3 separate regions of the Homo sapiens genome follow, and regions 1 and 3 are each linked to region 2. The links are contacts of gene promoters, found by promoter capture Hi-C in human tissues and cell types (Jung and others, 2019). All regions are on one chromosome and are shown on one strand. Each heading gives the region's core, a stretch centred on a gene start or on the middle of the fragment in contact. The rest is flanking DNA. Distances are from core to core; before and after follow the strand shown. Region 1 has its middle 210 kb from the start of PRELID2. Region 2 holds the start of GRXCR2 (glutaredoxin and cysteine rich domain containing 2). Region 3 has its middle 110 kb from the start of PRELID2.

Evidence for each region. Contacts are between HindIII fragments. The study calls those that stand out against the background at their distance.
Region 1: a fragment that was not itself captured here is called in contact with the fragment with the promoter of GRXCR2 in region 2 in 2 of the 25 tissues and cell types used here (lymphoblastoid cells and thymus).
Region 3: a fragment that was not itself captured here is called in contact with the fragment with the promoter of GRXCR2 in region 2 in 3 of the 25 tissues and cell types used here (bladder, liver and mesenchymal stem cells).

What each region holds. Positions count from the first base shown.
Region 1 is chr5:145,619,123-145,622,794 of GRCh38, forward strand. It overlaps a transcript of PRELID2 not described here. Among named protein-coding and RNA genes, the nearest start is that of PRELID2, 210 kb to the right of the region's middle. The HindIII fragment of the contact is 4,857 bases long and covers 1-3,672 here.
Region 2 is chr5:145,871,371-145,875,028 of GRCh38, forward strand. It overlaps GRXCR2 (glutaredoxin and cysteine rich domain containing 2), which reads right to left and starts at 1,644. Exons shown (of 3, transcript NM_001080516.2): 1 at 1,263-1,644. The coding sequence starts at 1,598. The HindIII fragment of the contact is 8,071 bases long and covers 1-3,658 here.
Region 3 is chr5:145,728,205-145,731,571 of GRCh38, forward strand. It overlaps a transcript of PRELID2 not described here and the pseudogene TRPC6P2. Among named protein-coding and RNA genes, the nearest start is that of PRELID2, 110 kb to the right of the region's middle. The HindIII fragment of the contact is 4,568 bases long and covers 1-3,367 here.

The DNA of each region.
Region 1 (3,672 bases), core at 580-3,079, 250 kb before region 2:
GAAAAAGGCCTTAGTTCTTCCCCCACGTGTGGAGTCTGCACACCAGATTGGTGCCCTCTCCCAACTTCTGGCCAGGAGGTTTCTCCACTGGTTCAAAGTTCAAAAGTTCAAAGTTCAAAAGCTACAAGACTCAGCTGGAGGCTTCCTTCTCCCTGTGGCATATTCCTCCTGCCTGTGGCCACGCTCCCAAAGGACCTGTGATGTTAGGCAGGAATGGCCTGTGTGGGGACGCAGGAAGCTCCCAGGGCCTTTTCCACTGCTTCCTCTACCCCTGTATTTCACTCGGCTGTCTAAATTGACTCAGCTCCAGCTAAGGTCAGAATCTTCTCCTGCAAACTAGACCTTCAGTTTCCCTAGCAGGAGTGTGTGCCTGGGGGCAGAGGATCTCCCTTTCCCACTTCCACAGTTTGGGCACTCACAGTATTTGGGGTGTCTCCCAGGTCCTGTAGGAGCAGTCTGCTTCCTTCAGAGAGTCTGAGGGTCCTCTCGGTTTCCTGATTTATTCCTGCGGTCATTCTGGAGCTAAAATTCATGATGTGAGCCTCCCCCTGCTGCTCTGTCCATCTGAGTTGGAGCTGCAATCTAGCCCTGCCTCGCATCCACCATGATGCCTCCTCAACATCCGACAATTCAATTTTAAAAAATAGGTAAAATACCTGTACAGGCAACTTGAAAATGGGATAGGAAAATGGTCATAAAGCATATGAAAACCCATTATCAATCAAGACAATCAGTAAATATATGAAAATCAAATAATAATAGAGAAATTCCAGCTGAAACCACAATGAGGTTACAACATACCCACCAGATGGGCTAAATTTAAACAGTCTGAAAATTTCAAGTATTGATGGAATGAGAAGCAATGGAAATCATCAAAGACTATTGTAAATTATTTTAGGCTCTTCAGAAAATAGTTTATCATTCTCTGGTAAAACTGAAAGTACACATATTTTGTGGCAGTGATTCTGCTCCTAGCCATGTGCATATGTAAACCTGAACACATTCATATTATCCATAGCAGCATTATTTGTAGTCGCCCTAAATTACCACAGTCCAAAAAGAGAGGAAACATGTTGAATGCTGAACAACATAAATTAAAGAAAAATCTACATTTAAAAATATCATAGTGAAACACCAAAGCATAACTCCAGTAAAACACCAAAAGCAAAGAGATCTACAAGCAGCCAGAGAATGGTAAATACATATCAGTATACATTTGTCCGAGCCTACAGAATGTGCAACACTAAGAGTTAACCCTAATGTAAACTTTGGACTTTGGCTGATAATGATGATCCATGTAGATTCACCAACTGTTAGAAAGGTAGCACTTTTGTGGGGGATATTGAAAATGGGGGATGCTACGCATGTGAGGGAGCACTAGGTATAGGGGAAATCTTTGTACCCTCCTCTCAATTTTACTTTAAATATAAAACTTCTCTAAAAAATAAATTTTTTTTAAAAAGTCCAGGTGTAGTGAGTGGCTCATGCCTGTAATGCCAACAATTTGGGAGGCCAATGAAGGCAGATTACTTGAGCCCAGGAGTTTGAGAACAACCTCGGTAACATGGCAAAATGCAGTGTTAGTGCACACCTGTAGTCCCAGCTACGTGGGTGGCTAAGGTGGGAGAATCACCTGATCCCAGAAGTCGAGGCTACAGTGAGCCATGGCACAGCTTTGGGTGTCGGAGTAAGACCCTGTTACACACACACACACACACACAAAATTAAAGATAGCCAGGGAAAAATAAATAACTTACAAAAGAATAACATTAGGCTGACATCTGACTTCTCAAATGCCACAATGAAAGCCAGAAGACATCTGAATAACATCATCAAAGTAGTGAGAAAATAATTGTCAGCCTAAAGAAGAGTTGCATACCAGAAAAACTAACTGCCAAAAATAAAAATAATATATTTGATAGGAAATTGTATCCAGAATATGTAAATAACTCTTACTACTCAGTAAAAAGACTGTTAAGACAATTTAAAAATTTGGCAAAGTATCTGAATAGACATTTCTCCAAAGTAGATATACAAATGGCTAAGAAGCACATGAAAAATTGTTTAACATCATTAAGTCATTAAGCAAGGTGAATCAAACCCATCACACTGACTAGGACGGCTATCATAAAATTATAATAATAATAACAACAACAGCAAATCCTAGCAAAGATATTGAGAAATTAGAGCACTCATACATTGCTGGTAGGAATGTAAAATGTGCAGCTACAACTTGGCAAAAAAGAGTTACCATGTGCCCTAGCAATTCTAGCTGTATACAAAGAGATTTGACATTCTATATCTACACAAAAACTTGTACACACCACTGTTTTTAGCAACATTAGTGATAAAAGCCAAAAAAGTAGACACAACCCCAAATCCCATCAACTGCTGAATAGATAAATTAAATGTGGCATACTCATACAATGAAATATTATTCTACAATAAAAAGGAATGAACTGCTGATACACATGTTCTCACTGATATATGGGAGGCAAAAATGAATAAATTAATTAAATGAGATCCTGGAAGAAGACAGTAGAATTGTAGCTATTAGGGGCATCAAAGGGTAGGGGGAATGGAGGATAAAGAGGTTAGTTAATGGATAGAGAATTATAGCTAGATTGGAGGAATAACTTCTAGTATTCTATGGCACTGTTGGATAAATATGGTTAGCAGGAATTTACTGCATATTTTCAATAAGCTAGAAGAGAGAATTTCGGATGTTCATAACACAAAGAAATGATGAATGAGATGAATACACTCATAACTCTATTTGGTCATCACACATTGCATGCATGTATTAAAATATCACTTTGTATTTCATAAATATGTACAGTTATTACATGTCAACTAAAAGTAAAACAAAAAGAAAAAAAACTACTGATACATGCTACAACATGGATAAACCTGGAAAACATTACACTAAGTGAAAGAAGCCAATCCAATAAAACCACCTATTATATGATTCCATTTATGTTAACTGTCCAGAATAAACAAAGCTTTAGAGACAGAAAACAGATTTGCCATTGTCTAGGGCTGGGAGTTGAGGAAATCTGGGGAATAACTGCTAATAAGAACAAAATTTTTTTTCAGGTGGTAAATAAAATGATCTAAACTTTAAGGTGGTAATAGTTGCACAACTATGTGAACATATTAAAGACTGTTTAATTGCATACTTTAAATAGGTAAATTGTATGATATGTGACTTATATCCCTATAAAGCTGTTGTTCAAAAAGAATAGTAGTGAAATAAAGTCATTTTAAGATGAAAACTAACAGACTTTAGCAGTAACTACTTATGCTAAAGGAAATCCTAAATTATATTCTCCAGGAACAAATCTGAGATACAATGATTAGTGAGCAAAGAAACTGTTGGAAATATAGATGAACCAAAACAATTATATGCCTGTGAGATAATAATAATATTTATTGTGTATTCGTTAATAAAAGAATTAACCTACTGGGCAAAAATAGCATAAACTTGGGAGGGATCATTGGAGTTAAAGTATTATGATTTCCTTGTATTGTTCAAGAAGGTTATTAAGATATTTGAACTTTCTTTAGTTAAATAGAAAGTTTCAAAAGTAACTACTAAAAATTATAAATAATTTGGCCTAAGTTCTGAAAGTATAAATAGAGAAAAATGGAATAAGTAATTTAAGATAAACA
Region 2 (3,658 bases), core at 394-2,893:
AGATCTGGATTCTTATTCTGACTCTGTACCCAATGACCCTGTAGTATCAGATGGATCCCTTAACAACTTGGCACTCAATTTTTCTCTTCTGCAAAATGGGAATGACCATACTTTGGCCTTTCTCCCCAAGGTTATAGTAAAGACCCAATGCCATAGATATAGACAGAGATAGTACATGATGACACTTTGTACTGCATACGTCACCCCATTAAGATAAGAGGTCATTCATTTCAGCCCCTTTTAATATCAAAAACAAGCCTAGTGTTATCTTCGGTAATTGTGAACATGCCCATAATTATACTTTTACCAATGCCAGTAAAGCCAGTAATACATTTGTCTGCAATAGATGTGTTATCTATTCCCTTAGGAAACTAACAATAAAAATAATTCAAGAGTAATTATCTGGCTTTCACACTTTAAAGATGAGAACACATCCTGGTGTGCTATTCATTAATAACGTGGATACATTATATAATTGTATTTTATCTTTTTTAAGAAGTCATTCATGGTCCCACTGACAGCATATATACATCTCCTATGAATTTTTGGATACCAGTGTATGTTTTCCAGGTTCTACCTTAAAAGAAAATCATGTATGGACTTTTGATTATCCATGGTACTGGGAAGTAATTGAAATTCATAGATTAAACACATTCTTCAATCGAACCATTAGCTCAAACTTCTTCCTCACATAACATATCCTCTGGCTGATTTGCGTTTCACCATCCCTTCCCAGGACTCCAACTACCCAGAGCTTATGCTAAGGAGCAATGGAAAGGAAAAATAAATAGACAAAGCAGGCAGTATGAGGAAGGCAATAGGGGTAAAAAACAAGACATGGATAAACTGCAAGCTGAGTAATTGGCTGGAGTAAAATGAGCACTTTCAAATACTCAGCTCTTTCAGGAAACAAAATGACTGCATAATTGTCTAAAACCGCAGTCTGACAACCTGAAAACCACTGCACCTCTATTTAATTTACATTCCAGGAAAACTCAGTCAAAGATCCAATTACAATGTATTACCTTGGATGGAATTTGAATACTATATATGCTCATTGCACTTTCCAATTAGTAGTCAACAAGCATGTTATTTTTACCCCAGAAATATTCGTCTAATAACAACTTCCCATTTGGTGCACCAACAGTTCTGGTTGGTACCGGAGGGGGAGCAAGACACAAATCTGAACCATTTAGGAGTTTCTCTAAACACGTTTTAGGAAGCCCTACCCTTAAAGCCTATATGCCATGCACAATACCAACCTTATGGTCATTCGCCTTGTAATCGTTGAACCGAGGCTGGCCGCCTGCCAAGGTGTAGGCATTACCCTCTCTAAACACACTGATCCTCTGAGCAGTCAGCTTAGGGGAGCACATCTGGGGCCTGGGGACTTCCCCAGACCCATAAACACCATCCATTGTTTCAAGAGACTCTTGCAGAAAACTGTGAGGGTATTCCTCCTTTGGTGACTCTAATTCCTGCCCATCCTCAAAGACCTGCTTCAATACTCGACCGCTGTAGGAGGAGGAGATTTTAAATCGTACTTTCCGGGGTTTGCCATCACTCTTCTGATTCAGCTTTTTCTCAGGGTCCTCCATCAGCAGAAAGTTGACCCTGTGGTCTCCAGCCTTCCGTGCAGCCGGTGAAACTTGGGCCTCTGAGAAAAAGGCATTTTATTTTCTCTCCTCCTGCATATAATTAATTCAAGTTGTTGCTGGGGTATGGTCAGTTTACAGCAACTGACACCCATACATTAAATATTGATAGACCCTCATGAAAAGGCAGGTGATTCTGGTTTGATGGAGTGGATGGAATATAAGACAAGATTGATTCTTCTCATAATCCCAAGCTCACCATGACTTCACCCCAACCCTAACCTTTCTTAACCTGAGGATGAAGAAGTTTATTTAGACTGAACATGTGCCAATTCAATAAGGATCAGACACTCAATTAGTTAACAAGTGTCTTCTTATTGTTAGCAATGACAATTAAAATCTAGTGAGCATTTCATAAGTACCAGAGATTGTTACATGCATTATTTTATTTCATCCTCACGATAACCCTACAAAGAAAATCTTACCTTTGTTTTACACAGGGGAAAGTGAGGCTTAGAGCCACTTGTCATTTATCTTCATCATTTGTCTGCTCTATTACACCTAAGTAAGTGACAGAGCAGGGATTTGAACCCAGATCTATCTGACTCCAAAACCCAAGATCAGCCCACACAACCAGAAGTTTTCCAGTTCTGGTTCTAGAAGAGGGAATGACGTCCTAGATACAGTGGAGGTTCTTGGAGGCTGCTGCTAAGAACAGGAGAAGGCCGAGGGTCCTGGATTCTGGGCCTTCTCCCCCTACGCTAACCAGAGCACCTCCACTTGGTATGTATTTTACATTTAAGATTTCATTTGCAATCACAGCACAAGTCCCCATTGCCTGTTGGACTTCGTAAATGCCTGACACTGAACTAGTGGCTGGAGTGAATAGCACAGAAGCATGTGACCTGGGCCTGAGAACAGTCCTACAATCCCATACAGACCTCACACAGGTGAAATAATAACCTCATGCTTAGAGAGCAAACTGCCCACAGCTGAATCCCAGAATAGCCACTCTGGGAAGGAAGTGGTCTCTAAGGAGACAAGGATGGAAGAAGGTTTGTAAAGAAAAGGGCCCTTGGGCTGGGTAGAAAATGGTAGGTTGGATGTGAGGAGCTGAAAGTGGAGTAAAGCCTTTCTCCCTGTCTTTGCTACCAGCATCACCATTTACTGAGTTACCCAAATTGACCCCTCCTATTCCCCTACAGCCATTCGCTTGGATTCTTTTTTTTTATTATTTTATTTTATTTTTTTTTTTTTGAGACGGAGTCTCACTCTGTTGCCAGGCTGGAGTGCAGTGGTACGATCTCGGCTCACTGCAACCTCCACCTCCTGAGTTCGAGCAATTCTCATGCCTCAGCCTCCCGAGTAGCTGGGACTACAGGCACACGCCACCATGCCCAGCTAATTTTTGTATTTTTAGTAGAGATGGAGTTTCACCATGTTGGCCAGGATGGTCTCAATCTCTTGACCTCGTGATCCGCCTGCCTTGACCTCCCAAAGTGCTGGGACTACAGGCATGAGCCACCGCACCCAGCCCATTCACATGGATTCTTTCACCACTGCCTTCTTTCATCTACCCCTATCACCCTGGCCCTAGGGCAAACCCTCATCACTTTGATTTTTAAAGTTGCAGCTGTCTCCCAAGGACTTCCCTACTCACCCCCAATTCCATTCTCCATATTGATGTGAGAGCAATAGTCCAAAACAACAAATCCACAGGTGTCAGTCTCTTGCTGAAAAATCTTTTCTAGTGCATCAGGGCTTAAGTCTTAACTGTTCCATGTGACAAGCAAAGCCCCTCAAAAACCAGCCTCACCTTCCTTCCTTTCCAGCCTTGCCCTCTGTCACTCTTCCAGGGGCTGCCTGGGATTGGTGTTCCAGTTACACCAACAAGCTTACCCATTTCTCAAACCCACAAGTTTCTGTCTCTTATCCAGTACTCTGTCTCCTGATTTAGAGTGTCAAATTTCCATTCCTCCTTCAAGTCACACCTCAAATGTCACTGCTTCTGGGCAGCCTTCCCACCTTCCCCAGGGAGAGTGCCATGGGACTTTCGGACCTAC
Region 3 (3,367 bases), core at 479-2,978, 140 kb before region 2:
AGTATCTCTTTAGGGCACTGACCTTATATTGTTAGTCTTCATCTATCCCTGCCTGTCCCTGTCTGTCCCTATGATACCTGTTAGTTCCTGTGAGTTCCTGCAAGTCCCTGTCTATCTATCTCTATTTATCTCTATCTCTACTTACTTATCTCTACATCTTCCTGGAAACCTTTTTTATGGCCCTGGGTAGAGCTCAGAAATCCACACTTCAAGCTTCAGCAAGAGACAAAACAGGGACCCCGGATCTGGAACCAGATTGAAGGGAACAGGAAGTGTTCTCCCCTCCCAAAGCAGGAAAACCAGAGTTTGGTCCTTGCAAATTTCTACTCCACATCAGCATCATCCTCAATTTCCTGGAATGAATTGTTGATCATGGCAATTAACACATTTAGCAAAACAATGACCACTGTAACATTATAGACTCCATAACGAACATAACCAATATTTTCAATGAATTTGTGGTTATAGTTGATGACCACTGATTTCACTTCAGCAAGTCCAAATATAGCCCAGAACAGTGTCTTAAAACTCTCTTCAACTGTTGTGAAGGCTTCATTTTGTTTTGCACCAATGTAGTAGGAGTAGAAGTTGTACGTTCCAATCATAAAGGCCACAAACACCATAATGAATATGACCATGAACCTGAAGATGTCTTTGACTGCTCCTCCAAGTGACATCTGCAGAGGTCCAAAGCTTTCATTTGCTGGCAAAATACAAGCTATCCCAGAGAAACTCAAAACCACAGCAACTGCACAAAGACCTTTAGACACAATCTGAGGATCAGAGGGGTCCCACTCCCTCCTGGCCAAAGTAACATTGGGAGATAATGTGAAATACTACATAATAAATGCCTTAAGAAATTCAAGTAAGCAGAATGTTTGCTTTCACTTGGTCCCATTGTTACCCTGGTTTCCGAGTACTCAGCTTTCCCACTGAGCTTCTTTGACTTTTGTCAAGTCCTTCAAAGTATCATTTGTATCAGTGATGCTCTGGGTTTCGGAAGCATGCCAGAATGCCCTGAATCTTACAATGAATGATGCTGCAAAAATTGCTAACATACCAAAATCAAGCATATTCCACAACTCAAACAAATATTCCTTGGGGCCTTGAGTCCAAATTTCTTTACATTTAGCCCATATCATGCCTCTGTTCTCATTAAATCTGTTTTTCTCTAGCAGAGGCAGGTTACCCATGAAACTGAAGCTTCAAGATGACTTTACTTGCCCAGGTTCCTTCTAAGTCCTCACTTTGTCTTCTTTTTCTCTAAGTGGGGCCCTCTGAATAAACAAGCCTCAGATTCCTCTGGGTCTTACACCCCATGCCTCACCCTCTACATAATAAATGCCTTAAGAAATTCAAGTAAGCAGAATGTTTGCTTTCACTTTGTCCCATTGTTACCCTGGTTCTTCCGAGTACTCAGCTTTCCCACTGAGCTTCTTTCAGTCATCCTTGGGTGTCCGTTGACGATGCGTCCTCTGCTTTTACATGCTCTAGCATTCCTTCACCGGGGTCTTTCTTGCCCCATGTTGGGCAGCCAGGAATGTTGGGGTGATCAGACCCAACACCAGGTCGTGGGGGCAATGAAGTCCGGTGGAGTCAAAAGAATGAGAAAAGACAGTTTGAGAGATAAAGTGGGTCCAGAGGGCCAATGTGAGTATGGAGGCTGTGAAGGCCCTGAGCTCTGCAAGCCCAGACTATTTATTGGTGATCAAAGAAACAGGTGGTGAGAATGTGGGGTTGAAAGGGAGCATTGCATTAAGCACAAGATTTACAGTTGTGATGGTTTAGCCTTTATATGGCCAATTCTAAGACACAATCAATCTAGGAGCCTGAGAGGGCTAGAAGCAAGGAGCCAGCAAGTCTAGACACATTCCAGAGCCACAAGGGGATTTATGCCCTGGGTTTAGATTATGGTGCGTCAGGGTAGCCTTCCACCCTTTAGCACAGAGCTTAGTGTTCCAAAGGCCATGAGGAGTTTTAGACCCTGGACCCTGGACATGTTCCAAGACTCTTTTACATTATGTCAGACATGCAAGCCCTGCCTCAGCTTCTCCCAACACTCAGCTTTTCTCCCAACACACTGGCCAAAGTAATTCTCATAGCCATGCCCAATTTCAAAGAAGAGAAGAGAAGTGTAATTCTACCCCATGCCCGTAATGTAGAAAGCAGGTAATATTTAACAAGCAGCACTAATAACTAGCACACTCTCAAAATGCCAAACTAAGGTGATTTTGACTATTCATGCATGGCATGAAGATCCATGAACAGGAGTCATTTGTAATTTTGCTGAGGCATAAATTTGAATCACCCATGCTAATGAGGATGAGGTTGGTTGGAAGAAGTACAAAAGCAAGTTTGTTACCTGTGAGTGAGCCTAGATAACTACTCAGCATCCACATCACATCATATCACATCGCAACTTTGTTCTGACAGAGCAGGAGCATCGCCATCTTGGACAAGCCCCTCATTCTAAAGTTCACCTTAATAAAAAAAAAACTGCCTAAATCCAAAGGGCATCAGTCTAATGACTAAGGTCGGCATGACCATAAACCACAAATAACATCTCTAACCAGAAACATTCCAAACTCCTCCCCAGCCAGAGACAGGCTAGCCCTAAGATAAACCCCCTCCAGCTGGGAAGATGCCAGTCTCGAGATGACATCCCTCTGGCCGGAAAGATGCCTGCCCCAAGGCAAACTCCCCTCCACCCAGAGACATTCCAACCCCACCATAAAACTTCTCCCTCAAACAGTAACATTCGAAGCTTCTGATAAGCCCCCTCACCCTAAAACTAATACATACTCTTAATCTGTAAGAGAAAGCACTCCTGATAGAAATTGGCCAGGAGTGTCTCTCAGGTTTTAACTAAAGAAAACCTGTCTTTAACTGCCAGCTGCATTTCGTGTTTCTTTCCTCTTTAACTCTTACATGTTCTACATTGTTGCATGTGTACTAATGTTTAAAGCATATATTTGCATTTCACAGGGGAAATTATCTGCTGGGATTCCCAGAGTTCTTGGAACATACTCAGTTTTGAACATAAGGATCCTTTCATTGATCCATTGATCACAGCTATGGACCAAGGCAAATGTTAATATCGGCTTCTATTCTCAGCCATAATCCTGCTCCATTCCTAAAATGCAGAGTGACTAAGATGCATACTGACAGGGAATCCAGTGAGTCCAATTTGTCAGAGAGGTATTCACCCATCAAAGTGGTCTGAACACTGTGGAACTCTTCATTCCAAATTGTTAGAGAGTACGACATGGGAAAAAGCACTGGATTTGGAGCCAAACACTTACTATCTGAATAATCTGGGGCATGACATTAAATCATTCTTAGCCTTACTGTTTTCGTTAGTAAAATG